Linked DNA regions of Homo sapiens: all the other regions are linked to region 1. The links are contacts of gene promoters, found by promoter capture Hi-C in blood cells and fetal thymus (Javierre and others, 2016). All regions are on one chromosome and are shown on one strand. The core of a region is centred on a gene start or on the middle of the fragment in contact, and the rest is flanking DNA. Distances in the headings are between cores, read along the strand shown. Region 1 holds the start of LEP (leptin). Region 2 has its middle 9.6 kb from the start of PAX4. Region 3 overlaps SND1 (staphylococcal nuclease and tudor domain containing 1). Region 4 overlaps SND1 (staphylococcal nuclease and tudor domain containing 1). Region 5 overlaps SND1 (staphylococcal nuclease and tudor domain containing 1).

The links. Contacts are between HindIII fragments. The CHiCAGO score rates a contact against its expected background, and 5 or more counts as called.
Region 2: a fragment that was not itself captured here is called in contact with the fragment with the promoter of LEP in region 1 in 3 of 17 cell types (endothelial precursors, erythroblasts and M1 macrophages); the score reaches 7.1 in endothelial precursors.
Region 3: a contact is called between a fragment that was not itself captured here and the fragment with the promoter of LEP in region 1, in 12 of 17 cell types (naive B cells, naive CD4 T cells, M0 macrophages and 9 more). The highest score is 10.4, in naive B cells.
Region 4: a contact is called between a fragment that was not itself captured here and the fragment with the promoter of LEP in region 1, in 13 of 17 cell types (naive CD8 T cells, total B cells, naive B cells and 10 more). The highest score is 10.9, in naive CD8 T cells.
Region 5: a fragment that was not itself captured here is called in contact with the fragment with the promoter of LEP in region 1 in 16 of 17 cell types (neutrophils, naive CD8 T cells, naive B cells and 13 more); the score reaches 14.4 in neutrophils.

The regions. Positions count from the first base shown.
Region 1 is chr7:128,239,957-128,242,720 of GRCh38, reverse strand. It overlaps LEP (leptin), which reads right to left and starts at 1,443. Exons shown (of 3, transcript NM_000230.3): 1 at 1,415-1,443. RefSeq lists a cis regulatory region at 1,489-1,497 and promoters at 1,415-1,661, 1,415-2,764. The HindIII fragment of the contact is 7,258 bases long and covers 1-2,764 here.
Region 2 is chr7:127,626,346-127,629,109 of GRCh38, reverse strand. No RefSeq gene overlaps it. Among named protein-coding and RNA genes, the nearest start is that of PAX4, 9.6 kb to the right of the region's middle. The HindIII fragment of the contact is 828 bases long and covers 945-1,772 here.
Region 3 is chr7:127,676,942-127,679,705 of GRCh38, reverse strand. All of the region lies in intron 1 of SND1 (staphylococcal nuclease and tudor domain containing 1), which reads right to left. Among named protein-coding and RNA genes, the nearest start is that of SND1, 26 kb to the right of the region's middle. RefSeq lists an enhancer at 456-545. The HindIII fragment of the contact is 745 bases long and covers 946-1,690 here.
Region 4 is chr7:127,694,416-127,697,179 of GRCh38, reverse strand. SND1 (staphylococcal nuclease and tudor domain containing 1) reads right to left here. Exons shown (of 24, transcript NM_014390.4): 3 at 2,232-2,352. Among named protein-coding and RNA genes, the nearest start is that of SND1, 44 kb to the right of the region's middle. The HindIII fragment of the contact is 4,465 bases long and covers 1-2,764 here.
Region 5 is chr7:127,715,556-127,718,319 of GRCh38, reverse strand. All of the region lies in intron 9 of SND1 (staphylococcal nuclease and tudor domain containing 1), which reads right to left. Among named protein-coding and RNA genes, the nearest start is that of SND1, 65 kb to the right of the region's middle. The HindIII fragment of the contact is 1,708 bases long and covers 489-2,196 here.

The sequences.
Region 1 (2,764 bases), core at 194-2,693:
CTGGAATGGACGGGGAGGAAAATATTTCCCCAAATACCAAGAAGAGTTATTTTGGGTATAAAATGTACAAAATATGAGGAGGACGCTCCTTTAGCCAATGTGGAAATGTTCCCCTCAGCCCAATGTCCACAACTGCTTGGGAAGGGAAAGAACCTAAAAGCATCCACTGTTTCTCTCTTGCCTTGTCTCCCTGCCTAAGTGAGAGAAATGATCAGTGTGGCCTTCTTGTTTCTAAGGGCATTAGAACAGGAGCACTCACGTTGCTAGAAGCCTCCATATCTGGTTCTGCAGACAATCCTAATATGAAAGAGATTGGCAAAATTCCCCAGTTCCAGCTGCCCATGGCCCACCTCAGAATCCTACAGAACAAACACAACTCCGGCTGCCAGAGGTCATTCTGCACTGCAAAGGAAGAGAGCCTGTGCTCCTGGAACGGTACCACCAAGTCTCTGCTCTTCACCCACCTCCCCAAAGATCACCCTTCCAACAGAAATTAATCACCTCTTGGAAGCTGCTATTCTGAAATGACAGCCAGGCCACTTGTCTCACTTGGACCTAACTGTATTTAAGGAGTCACTTTCCCAAAGCACCACTATCTTTAAACTATAGAAACAGGAGTGTAAAGGCGATGGCACCCACAGTGAAATCCAAACCAAGCCCAGACTGAAGGAAGGCTATAGGTGAGCCTGGTGGGCCAACAGCGCGTATTTAGCAGTCCTGGCTAGAAGTTCCCTAATAACCAGTTCTGACCCCCAGAGACACCTCATTGTATGCATTGCAAAGAAGGCAATTTGCATGGCTTTGAGGACAGATCTGGTAAGACCCTGCACAATTTCTCTGGAAGATTTTGAGTCTTCCTGACACTTGTTTCCCCCCACCTCTACTCATCCTTGCCTTCCTCCCAGGCATTGGCCTTACACAGCCCCTCTCATTCAGAGGTCAGGAACTTCCCTGGAAAATGAATCCTGAATTCCTACCCGCAGAGCAAGGCAATGTCTGGGACTGAGACTGATCACTTGCATCTGCGTCTCTCCTACCCCCAACTTTATCTCCTTCAGACTGGGGTGGGACATCCTGATCTTTGGGGATGTGCCCAAGGCAATTTCCAATGCATCTCAGCTCTGCGAATGCCACCAGGTTGGTGGGTCTGACAGTCTCCCAGGGACCTGGCTGGTTCTGCAAGGTCCTGCCTTCTGGGCACCGGCACAGCCCAGCAGCAAATCCAACGCTCCCCAGCTCCCGGTAACCTTCTATCTGGCTAGAACTCGGTACAAAGCTATCATAGTCCAGAACTAAGCCATCCGCCCTGCATCCCTCCTGACTCAGTTTCCCCGGGATCCAGAGTTGTGTGGGGCCCTGTGGCCTGCCAAGAAAGACCAGCAGAGAAGGAGGAAGGAGCGCGCCGGGGCCTTACCTTGCAACCGCTGGCGCTGCGATTCCTACGGGGCTCCATGCCTGCCCGCCCCTCTTATAGCGGCCCGATCACAACTTGCGCAACTGCCCCGCAGGCCCCGGCGCATTTCTAGCGCCAGCTCCCGCCCCGCCCCTCAGGGTAGCGACGTGCCGGGCGGCTGCTAGCCCTGGGCCCGCAGTGTGCACCTCGCGGGGCCTCGAGGGAGGGCCTCGGCGCGCCAGGAGCCACGCGCGCACCCTTGGGTACCTCCCAAAAATTTGGGGGTGGCTGGTAGGAGCGAGAAATCCTTGATGTCCCTCCAGAGGCTCCGGCGCGACTATGGCGCAAGGACCAGCCCCTTGGGAAGGTGCTTCGAGCCGCGCGGGGCGCGGTCGGGGCGGGGGTGGCTGTGAGGGGCTCCGCGGAGCGGGCTGGGGCATACGGCTGCGCCCTCGTTGGTCCTGGCGCGGCTTCGGGGTGGGAGCGAATCGGGACTCGGCCCCGACGGCCCTGGACGCCAGGGAAGCCCAGGGTTAGAGGGAGCGGCCCGCAGTGCGCCAGGCTCCCCGACCCAGATTGCGGGGTTGGGGGTTCTGAAGTCCCACCCCTTCTCTGGCACGCGGAGAATCGAGTTCCAAGCCTCAGGGCAAGTTGTCTCTGGCTGGCACCCCAGGGAGTGCACGCTCTCTGGAGGGCTCCAGGCGGGCACTGTGGCCTTTGGGGACACTCTGGACATACTGTGGGTCTCCATCCTCAACTCCGTATTTCCTACGTACAAAGTGGGGGTTGGGGGGTGGTCCCAGATGTAGCCACGTTTTTGTCATCATAGCCTGTGAGTGGTGTGGTAGGCATGTTTCACCTGTATCGTTTGTAGTTCCCCGCTTTACATGATGGGTTGGTTTGTTTTGTTTTGTTTTGTTTTGTTTTACCCTTGGGCTTCAGGGATGAGGAATCTAAGGTCCAGCGAGGTTAAATGACTTTCCTTAGAATCCACAGCTGGTAAGGAATAGCAATGGGCTAGGAACCCAGGCCTATTCTGGTCCCCACTGCGCAGAGCAGCTCCAAAAACAAACCACTCCATTGAGAACCAACCCAGCCAGGCGTGGTAGCTCAAGCCTGTAATCCCAGCACTTTGGGAGGCCAAGGTGGGTGGATCACCTGAGGTCAGGATTTCGAGACCAGCCTGGCCAACATGGTGAAACCTCATCTCTACTAAAAATACAAAATTAGCCAGGTGTGGTGGTGAGTGTCTGTAATCCCAGCTACTTGAGAGGCTGAGGCAGGAGAATGGCTTGAACCTGGGAAGTGGAGGTTGCAGTGAGCCAAGATCAGACCATTGCACTACAGCCTGGGCAACAAGAGTGAAACTCT
Region 2 (2,764 bases), core at 109-2,608, 610 kb after region 1:
GTGGAGACTTCAGAGAGTAAGAGCTGTTTTGATCCAGAACCAAGAAGTGGACCTGAGGATCAGTGAAGAGGAATTGGATGAGCGAGGATTAGCAGTGGAGGAGATGCCAGCTAGACTGATAATGAAACCTGGGACAATGGTTCCTTTCAAGTGTGGTTATTGCATTCAATGATGCCAAGCTGAAAATAGTGATAAGACTTAATTTATAATCACCTATCTTTACATAGCTTGTTCTCTGGTTAGTGTAATGCTTTTGTTGGGCTGAGCAGGTGTTGCTTTGGGGGCCTTTGTGGGCACAGCAAAGCTGAAGAGCTCTGGATTCCTGGCAGAGAGGTAGGATCCTTATCCTTAGGGAGTAAATTTTCTTTCCCGTTTCCTCTGGGTCTTGCTAAGCAGTGGAAAGTTACCCAAGCTGGAATGCAGAGTTTTCCTATGTGGGGCTTGACACAGCCTGATTTTCAGTGATGGCTAGAGAAAATACAGCGCCCCCTGCCACTCTAACCTAGGCCAGGCCAAGACTCCACAACCTTCAGAAAGTGCACAGGCAAAGACCTGGACTATTAGTGGCTTACGCTCCCTATCCCCCTCCCTTTAAAAAATGCAAAAGTTTGGGTATTTTTCTTTTCTTTTTATTTTTTTAGAGACAGGATCTCACTCTGTCATCCAGGCTAGAGTTCAGTGGTGCAAGCATTGCTCACTGTAGCCTCGACTTCCCAGGCCCAAGGAATCCTACCTCCTCAGCCTCCACTATGTTGTTGCCCAGGCTGGTCTTGTACTCCTGGGCTCAAGTGATCCTCTGGCTTCAGCCTCCTAAAGTGCTGGGATTGCAGGCATGAGCCACTGCACCCAGCCATTTTTAAGAAAGCTTTACTGCAAGTAGACTGGCAAGGAGACAGGAGGCTAATGCTTAAATCTGTCTTCCTGATCTGGGGATGGGTCAAGCTTTTATGGCATTTCTAATTAGTCCAGGGTGATGCCAATGCAGCCGGTCTGCCAGGCTGCTGGTATTACAATTATCAGGGGTTTTTTGTTGTGTTTCTTTTTCCTTCTTTTCTTTTCTTCCTTTCTTTCTTTCTTTCTTTCTTTCTTTCTTTCTTTCTTTCTTTCTTTCTTTCTTTCTTTCTCTCTCTCTCTCTCTCTCTTTCTTTCTTTCTTCTTTCTTTTTCTTCCTTTCCTTTCCTTTCCTTTCCTTTCCTTTCCTTTCTCTCTTTCTCTTTCTCTCTCTCTCTCTTTTGAGATGGGGATCTCTACCAAAAAACTATGTTGTCCAGGCTGGTCTCAAACTCCTGCCCTCAAACAATCCTTCTGCCACAGCCTCTTCAAATGCTGGGATTATGGGAATGAGCCACCACGCCTGGCAAAGTTTTGGTAGTTTTCAAAAGCAGCAGAAAGATAGCCACCCAACTATCTCCTAGGCAAGATAAATCTAGGCCAGAGAAGGAGTTTCATATAATAGGCTAGTGATCCCAAAGATAAAAAAGGCCAACTGAAGAAGCAGAGAGACAGAAATAATGGGAGCACAGAGTTACAGCAGGGAGGATGGCCTGGGAATCTCCTAGACTATAACTACTGAACTCAGTCAATAGATAATAATATTAACTGTTAGTGCACAATAGTAGTGTTAATAGTAATAATATAAAACACTTATATAGAATGTTCTACATTTGTTAATTTATATAATAGTCACAACAATCCTATGATGTAGCTACTATTGATATTTTTATTTTATACATGCAGAAAAATGAAGCACAGAAGGTTTTAAAATGTAAGCTTAAAAAAGGATGCAGGCTCCAAGAGGGCAGAGAATTCTGCCCTTTTTATTCACTGCAGTTATCCCAGTGCCTGGCACATGTTCAATAATTATTTGTTGAATTAACAGTTAACTGATCCAAGATCATGCAGATGGCATGACAGGCCTGGGATAGGAACTGAGGTTTGATGCCTCTACAATTCCCACTGTTAATTACTGAGCCATACTGTCCTAGATGCTGTTATAGGAGATGAACTTCATGTGTCTCTCAGCCTGAGTTACGTCTGCTTGATAAATCCTCACCCTCAAAGCTGGCTAGCTGAGGAAACACTTCCTAACTTGTTTTATGAGGCCAATGTCACCCTTATACCAAGAGATAAAGACATTGCAAGAAAGGAAAACATAGACCAACATTGCTCATGAACCTAGATGCAAAAATTCTCAACAAAATATTAGCGTATCAAATCCAACACTGTATAAAAAGAATTATACACCATGACCAAGTGGGATTTATTTCAGGTTTGCAAAGCTAGTTCCACATTAAAAACCATTCAGTGTAATTCACCACATCAACAAGCTAAAGAAGAAAAAAATCATGTAATCATATCAGCTGACTTAAAAAAAGCATTTAACAAAATCCAATACCCACTCACGATAAAAATGCTCAGCAAACCAGGAATGGAGGAGAACTTCCTCAATTTGATAAAGAAATCTACAAAAATTGCACAGCTTAGGTTCATCAGTTATAACAAATGTACCACTCTACCCTGGTTGGGGATATCGATAACAGGGGGAGCTATGCATGTGTGGGACAAAGGTATATGGGAAATCTCTGCACCTTGTGTTTAATTTTGTTGTGAACCTAAAACTGCTCTAAAAAGTAAAGTCTATTAAAAAATACATATTGCCTTGGACAGGAAGACTTGATATTGTGAAGACAACATTTCTCTCTAAATTAATATTATACATCCAATTTTTTTTTTTTTTTTTTTTTTTTTTTTTTGAGACAGAGTC
Region 3 (2,764 bases), core at 69-2,568, 560 kb after region 1:
GCCAGACACAAATGGCCACATACTGAACTGTTCCCATTATATGAAATGTGCAGAAAAGGGAAATCCATAGACAGAACATAGACTAGTGGTTCCCAGGGACTGACAGAAGGGGAGAGTGGGGAATATACTAATGGATACAGATTTCTTTGGAGGTGATGAAAATATTCCAAATTAGTAGTGATTGTTACATGATTGTAGTAAAAAGCCACTGAATTATATACTTTAAAAGTGTCAACTTTATGGTATGTTAATTATATCTAAAAAAAAAATTTTAAGGTCCAACACAGAAGTACAAAAACATGGGGACATAAAATGTATATTTTACTATAGAGCCTTCCATATTCTTGCAGGAAGATTAGATGCTAGCTGAAAAACATTAACAAAAAAATTTTTTTAAATGGCAGCTGCCTGAGAAGCAAAAGTCAGGCATGGTGACTCACCCCAGAAGCGGCTATAAGTATAAACCTTCAAATCCTCTAGAAATAACTAGGTAGGAAGCCACAGGAAAAAGACAGAACTTCAGTGAAATCTACAAAGCTCTAAAAAGGATGAAAATGGCCAGAAGCAATACAAGCTTTTTCTCAGAAACAATATAGCGAGCATCCTGTGTGTCACACAGAAAGGAGAACCAGGAAAGTCATTGAGCTGAAGGGTCCATGATGCCATTCTTCAACTGTCACAACCCAAAGGCTGCACATGCAGGGACTCTACGTCAGAGTGGCAAAGAAGCAGGCCAGGGACTCCCCTCTGGACAAGGTGTTTTCTACACCTAAAAATACCATCAGGGGATGGGGAAGGAGCTACTGTAAAAAGAGGAGGCAAAGTTTGGTCCTAATGGATACCCTTTAATGAAATGAAAACATTTAAAGAAACTGAATGAAAGCAAGAGTAACTAAAAAGAAACTCAATTGGGGAATATTTCAAAATGCATATCAGGAAAAAGCTTCCTGGCAGTCAGAGCTGTTGCCTCCACAGGAAGAATCATCTCTTGAAAATTAAAAAGTCATTTAGACAAAGCAAGCAATCCCAAAACAACATAAGCTGTGTGGTCTGGGAGGCCTTTCTCTGAATACTCACCAACACAGCCAGTTTTTTGTTTGTTTTGTGTGTGTGTGCGTATGTGTTTTTGTATTGCTTTTTGGTTTTTTTCCTGGCAAGAACAAGAGGCAAACCTAAATTAGAGGGCCCAACATTCAAACCCAATGAACCGGAAGCCCAGGAGCTCATGGCAGTGCTGACTCACTGGCTCTGGATACACTTGCAGACCCAACAGGTACAAGCACAAGTTGCTGCTCCCGAGCCAACTGTGCCAAAAATCGGGCCGCAGTTTACATATACGGAGTTTAAATCTCAGGAGGACCATAACAATCATCTACAGAGAGACTTCACATAAAGACAGCATCTAATCTGGGCTATTTTATTTTACAGCTGAGAAATCTGAGAGCAAGAGAGGTAAAGTAACTTTTGCCTAAAATAACCAGGATTGACAGCAGAGCAAGGATTGGGGTTGAAGTTTCCCAATCCTGATATTCCACTATGCCACACATACAAACAAGCATTTGGGAGCTGATTTCTGTTAAAATGGTATCTGAGGTTACCTACTGATTAAATCTTTTTCTCAATTAAAATCTCTGTTTATATGTGCCAGTAGAACAGGTGTTGGAGACCAAATCACTAAGCAAGTAAAGCTTCCATGAGCTGGCTGTCCCAAATCATACCAACATTTATTAAACCGTACCATCTGCAAGGCAAGCTGACTTAGAGTCCAATATTACAAAAGAACACCCAAAAAGTAGATGCAAAGAAGAAAACTTCAAAACGATAAAATGCAGGATTGGCGAACTACAGCCTACTAGCCAAATCCAGCCTACTGCCTGTTTTTGTACAGACCATGAGCTAAAAATGGTTTTTACATTTTTAAAAGGTTGGAAAAACATCAAAAGAAGATTATGTAACATGCAAAAGAGTATGAAAGTCAAATTTCAGTGTCCATAAATAAAGTTTTATTGGAACACGTCAAGCTCATTCATTTATGTATTGTCTAGGGCTGCTTTTGCACTAGAACAGCAGAGTTGAGTAGTTGCGACAGAGACCATATGGCTGGCAAAGCCTAAAATATTTATTACCTGGCCCTTTACAGAGTAAGTTTGCCAACCCCTGATATAAAGCATTATGACAAGCGAGTGAGATGAAAACTAGTTTTATGGTCGTCTAAATAGCAAGTGCATGGCAAAAATAAATTCTGGACCAATTCAAGTTACACAAACTGCTCGTTTTTATAATCAGAGAAGGAGCTGCAGTATATGGCAATAAGAATTTAGTTTCAGAATCAAATCAATGTCAGCAGTGACCTTTGAAAGTTATTTAATTGGCTCCATTAGCCTCCATTTCATCATTTATAAAATAAATACATAAGAATATATATAAGTTGTTATGATCCAGTTTGTCAATCTGTTGCTGAAATAAAAATAAAATAAAGAGTTGTTATGAAACCTAAACAAAATAAAAGCACTTAGCACAGAGCCCAGCACAAGGACACAATAAATATAGCCAACATTGTTGTTACAAGAAATGGCTCAAAGTGTGGTCTGCTATAAAGACTGGAAGAGTATGTACAATAGAAAAAGATGGACATTCCTCTAGGGATATAGAAGAAAACATCATGGTCAGGCACAGTGGCTCACGCCTGTAATCCCAACACTTTGGGAGGCCAAGGCGGGTGGATCACCTGAGGTCAGGAGTTCGAGACCAGCCTGGCCAAGAA
Region 4 (2,764 bases), core at 140-2,639, 550 kb after region 1:
ACAGTATTCAGAGCAGGTGGGTGATTATATTGTCTTCAAAAGCCAGAAAACTAATCATCTCTTCAATAAGTTCTAGGTTAACCACAAAGTCTCAAATTTTACCATTCTCTCCCATCATAAAAAAAAGTGGGTAGCAATAAAATAAACACAAATGCTAATTATCTAAGCCACTGTTTTCTTTCATTATAATAGAATTGGCATTAAGAGTTAGTTAAAATACCTTAGTGAAAATATTAAACATTAAACTATTTCTTTATCTTTAAAATGGAAAGATTATAAGCAATTCCAACCATTCTTTAAGTACATATTTATTGATCACCTATGTGCCAGTTCTTATTCTAAACACTAATGTGTTAACATACTAAATTAAATTATATCCAGTTTGTAATGTGAGTCAGTTTAAAAAGTAAACTTTTAAAAAACAACTCTACAGATAATTTAAAATATCAGCTTCTCTTAAAATAAACAATTTGGCCATTTTGGCTGAAGACCAAGGGTATTAAAATGAACTCTTAGGGGTGCTCTACATATAGAAATATCTGTGCCCACAATTATCTGTGGTCCGGTAAGGTCTCTTGTGGGGTAACAGAAGACTGATCAGCTATTATGGAATTGAAATTTTTTAGGTAATGAAATCCTTAACAATTGCATTTTGAAGATAGTACACTTCTTTTCCTCTTACATTCTTTCTAACCAGTAACCACTCAATAATTATCTTTAAGCGTTTTGTTTCTTACTATATTATAAGAATTACGGGTAAAAAGCAAACTTATTTCCCTTTTTGAAAAGAGGCCTTAGGTTTCTATAATTTCTCATTCAAATAAGAAGCAGGTAGCCGTTTTCTGGGAGACTAAAAAGAGGTATTTCTCTACTAGGTAGGAAATCGAACAAGATGCCTCAAAGGTCATTCTCAACTCATTTTTCTGAGACCTCTATCATTAAAAACAGAGTCTTAGCAGAATACTGTTAGCACTGTCATTCTACCCTGCTTGCTTATTGCTAGCACTGACTATCCAACTCAAATAGATTATCCAAATCAACTCCGTTACATGAGCTATCTGAAAGGTTTTTAATCAAAGAATCAAAGGAAACTTAAAAAAAATTCTGCTCCACAAATAGTTCAATGAACATAACTTCATGTTCATCTGGCTGCTTTCTGGAGAACATCCTACCAATTCCTCTTTCAACATCCTATTTCTGTTCCAACTCCATTCCTCAATCTTATTCTCTTACTACCTAATCCAAAAAGCCCAGAACATCTAATATCCCATGAAGCATCTGGCCCAGCTATACAATATGCACACACACAAATATCCAGAGTGAGGTGCTTTACATATACTATTTTTTTGTTTTTTGACCAGGATCTCACTCAGTCACTCAGGCTAGAGTGCAGTGGCATGATCATGGCTCACCACAGACTTGACCTCCCAGACTCAGGTGATTCTCCCACCTCAGCCTCCCGAGTAGCTACGACTACAGGCGTGCGCCACCACGCCTGGCTAATTTTTCCATAGAAACGGGGTTTTACCATGTTGCCCCAGGCTGGTCTCGAACTCTTGTGCTTAAGAGATCCTCCTGCCTCACACTCCCAAAGTGCTGGGATTACAGGTGTGAGCCACGGTGCCTGGCCTATACTATCTCTTTCAACTCTCTCAATAACTTACAAATGAAGAAACTAGGGCTTACAGAGGTTAAGGGTTAAGTAAGGGCACATGGTAGGAAATCAGAATTCTAACCTACATCTATGCAACCCCGACATCTGTGCTCCTTCCATTCCATTAAAAACATGTAGGCTGCAAAAAACCACAGGCCCTCAACAAATCTTCCTTTCCAAAAGAGTTCCCAAGAGAAGAAAAGCCACAAGATAGATAAAAGAAATAGAAGATACAAAAGGAAATCTATAGAAATTCAATTAGCATTCTGACCTAGAAGCACAGAGCCATTGAGTTCCATGAGTGAATGGCCTAAACATGAGGAAGAATGCAACTCTATACTACATGCACCTAAACCAAAGCAGGAAAAGGGGTACACAAGGAACAGGAACACCGGGGGCATGCCTCTGTACACATATATTCCCTGTGCTCAGGGCCCAAAGCATTTGCATTTATGCCTTCAGCCAACTGTCCTAGAGCTTCCTCCACCAGAACCCACACTGGCCTTCCACCACAAGAAAACTGATCTTTAACAGAACTTTAGACTTGAGAGAAATGAGTCCTCTCCCTGCAGCTCACCTTTTCCAAGGTAGATCATGCCATACTCTCGCCCCTGGGGAGTCTTGTTTTCTATCGTGAAACAGACTTCCTTCCCAATCAGCTTCTTTCGAAGGAACTCTCGAGCTGGAAATGCCCAGGGCTGAAAGACAAAACAAATATGTCACATGAGAACTGCCTAGTTTCAGATGCCAATCAGCATTCAAGCAACTTCATACCTTCAGTAAATGTCTGAGTACCTACCATGGTCCTGGCCCTGCGCTGGACCTTGAGAATATAAAAATGAAATGCACACAATGCAGATCGCACACTTAGGGGGCTCATAAAAAAAGGAGGGTCCAGCAGTTGGTTTAACTAACACAGACACTAAAAACAGGCCTCAGAGTTTTCCAGACACTGGCAGCAGGACTTTTTCCCTATCACTGTCTGTTCAGAGTTATAGCTTACTTTGTGAATAACATTTGCCAATGCTTTTATAGCACATACCATGTGCCAGCCACTGCTCTAAATGCTGTATATATATCAACCCACTCCTTCAAATGGGAAGTCCAGGC
Region 5 (2,764 bases), core at 93-2,592, 520 kb after region 1:
GCCAGCTCATCAGCACCATTACGGACCACATTTTAACAGTGATATTTCTTCTGGTGCTTTTCATCAGGATAACTGAAGTATGCCCACACTGCCCACTTTCTCTGCTAGCTACAGATCTCTAATCAAGCCAACCCCATGCACGCTCACACCCCACACACCAAGAGATAACCTAAGGCATAGGAGCAAAAGTCTACATGGAAAAAGTCATTAGCTGGACTCAAATACATGCACTAAATCCAATTCCCTCCCCATTTCTTGAAGCCCAATCATAAAAGGAAAAAATGGTTTAATGATAATAAGGTGTAGGCTAAGGGCTGCCATGAGTCAAGAAAACCAGAGTTCCGTTAGGGGAACATCCATGCCTATCTTCAGCCTCTGTCACACTCTCTCATCTGTACAGCCCATCCACAGCGCTCACTGGGTGCAACGGGCTGCTGTTATTCAGATTCTGAAAACCCTGAAGCACACATAAAACAAACAAAAAAGCTTCCTTTTTGTTCAACAGCTTCCTGAGCTGTGGACATAACCACCAATAGCCCCAATGCTGCCAAAATTTCCAGTACCAGATAGAAACAAAAGGATTCTCAGCCCAAAAGGGCCTTCTACAAGCATGACCAGAGACTGTGGTTTGATGACGTCACTGAGAATGACACACAGATACCTATTCTCCTCTCTGAAATCATGACATCTGGCTGTTTTTCCCACTCCCTAAGGTTGTATGCTATGTCTCTTCTCCCCAGTCCCCTAGAAGAGTACAGCTGCCACCCTTGTCCTCAACAAAAACAAACCACAACAATATCCTGATGCAGGCACTTCCAGGCACCTAAGCACAACCAAACCAGATACTCTTAAGATGTACTTACATGGAAATCAGGCATCAGACAACTTTCAACAGAGGGACGTCCTACACACTACCTGACCAGTACTTCAAGATTGTCAAAGTCATCCAAAACAAAAAAAAAGTCTGAGACACTGGCATATCCAAAAGGAACCTAAGGAGATATGACAACTAAATGCAATGTGGTATCCTGGAACAGAAATAAAGTATAAATAAATGAATACCTGAATAAAATATAAACTTTAGTTAATAAAAATGTATCTATATTGATATACTAACTATAACAAAAATACAATACTCCCGTAAAATATTAATGACAGAGGAAACTGGGCTGAGGGTGGATGAGTAATATAAGAACTCTGTGCTACCTGCTTAATTTTTCTGTAAATCTAAAGAGTGACCTAAAAAATGAAGTCTCTAATAATTTAATTTTTAAAGCCAGGTTAATATTCTTTCAATCTCTTCTAACTCAATCACTTTCTTTTTCTTATCAGCACACTGGTTTACTAGTATAAGCTGCAAACCAAGTCTTGATCCCTTTTTGGTTCAGCAGAGCCCACCTTTCTAGTGAGACAATCTCCAGAACTTCCTTTCCAACTGAAAGTCAAATGGCAAAAGGCAAGGAAGTGGCAGGTATTTTTTGATTCTCTCCATATTATCACATAGGAATATACTGGAGAAATCCAGATAATGCCAAAAATATTCAGCTGCATCCTTGCTTAAAAACCATGTCAGAGAGCCACTTCCATTTAACATAGTACTGACAGTCTTAGCCAAAGAAGTTCAGCAAGAAAAAGAAACAAAAGGCATCTAAATTGGAAGGAAAGAAATAAAATTATCACTGTTCCCAGATGACGTATAGGTAAAAAACTCTAATAATTCCACAAAAACTGTTAGAATAAATGAATTCATGAAGTAGCAGGATATAAAGCCAACACACAGAATCAGCTGCATTTCTATAAATAATAAACAATCCAAAAAAAAAAAAACCTAAGAAAATAGTTCCTTTTCCAGTATCATCAAAAAAGAACAAAATACTTAGGAATTAACTCAACCAAGGAAGTGAAAAACTTGTACAAAGAAAACTACAAAACACTGTTGAAAGAAATTAGAGACATAAATAAACGGAAACACGTCCCATGATCATGGACTGGAAGACAATACTGTCAAGATGTCAATACTACCCAAAAGCGATTTACAGATGTAATGCAACCCTTATCAAAATCCCAGTGATGATTTTTATGGAAACAGAACAGCTCATCCTAAAATTCATATGGAATCTCAAGAGACCCTGAATAGCCAAAACAATCCAGAAAAAGGACAAAGCAGGAAAACTCACACTTCCTGATTTCAAAGCTTACTACAAAGCTACAGTAATCAATACCACATGGTACTGGCATAAAATCAGACATACAAACCAATGAAACAGAATGAAGTCCAGAAATAAACCCTTGCATATACAGTCAAATGATTTTTGAGATGGGTGCAAAGACCATTCAATGAGGAAATGACTGTCTTCAACAAATGGTCCTAAGAAAACTAGATATCCTCATGCAAAAAAACAAAGTTGAACCCTTATGTAACACCAAAACTAAAAACAAACTCAAAATGGATTCATTACTTAAATATAAGACCTATAAAACTACAAAACTCTTAGCAGAAAACACAGGGCAGAAACTTTGCAACATTGGATTTGGCAATGATTTCTCAAATATGACACCAAAGGAACAGGCAACAATAGTACAAATACAAATTAGATTTCATGAAAATTTTGTGTAACAAAGTAAAAGGCAACTGACAAAATAGGAGAAAATATTTGCCAATCATATACCCAACAAAGGATTAATATCCAGAATATATAGAGAACTCCTAAAACTCAACAACAAAAAAACAAAAACCTCAATTAAAAAACAGGCAAAGAGGCTT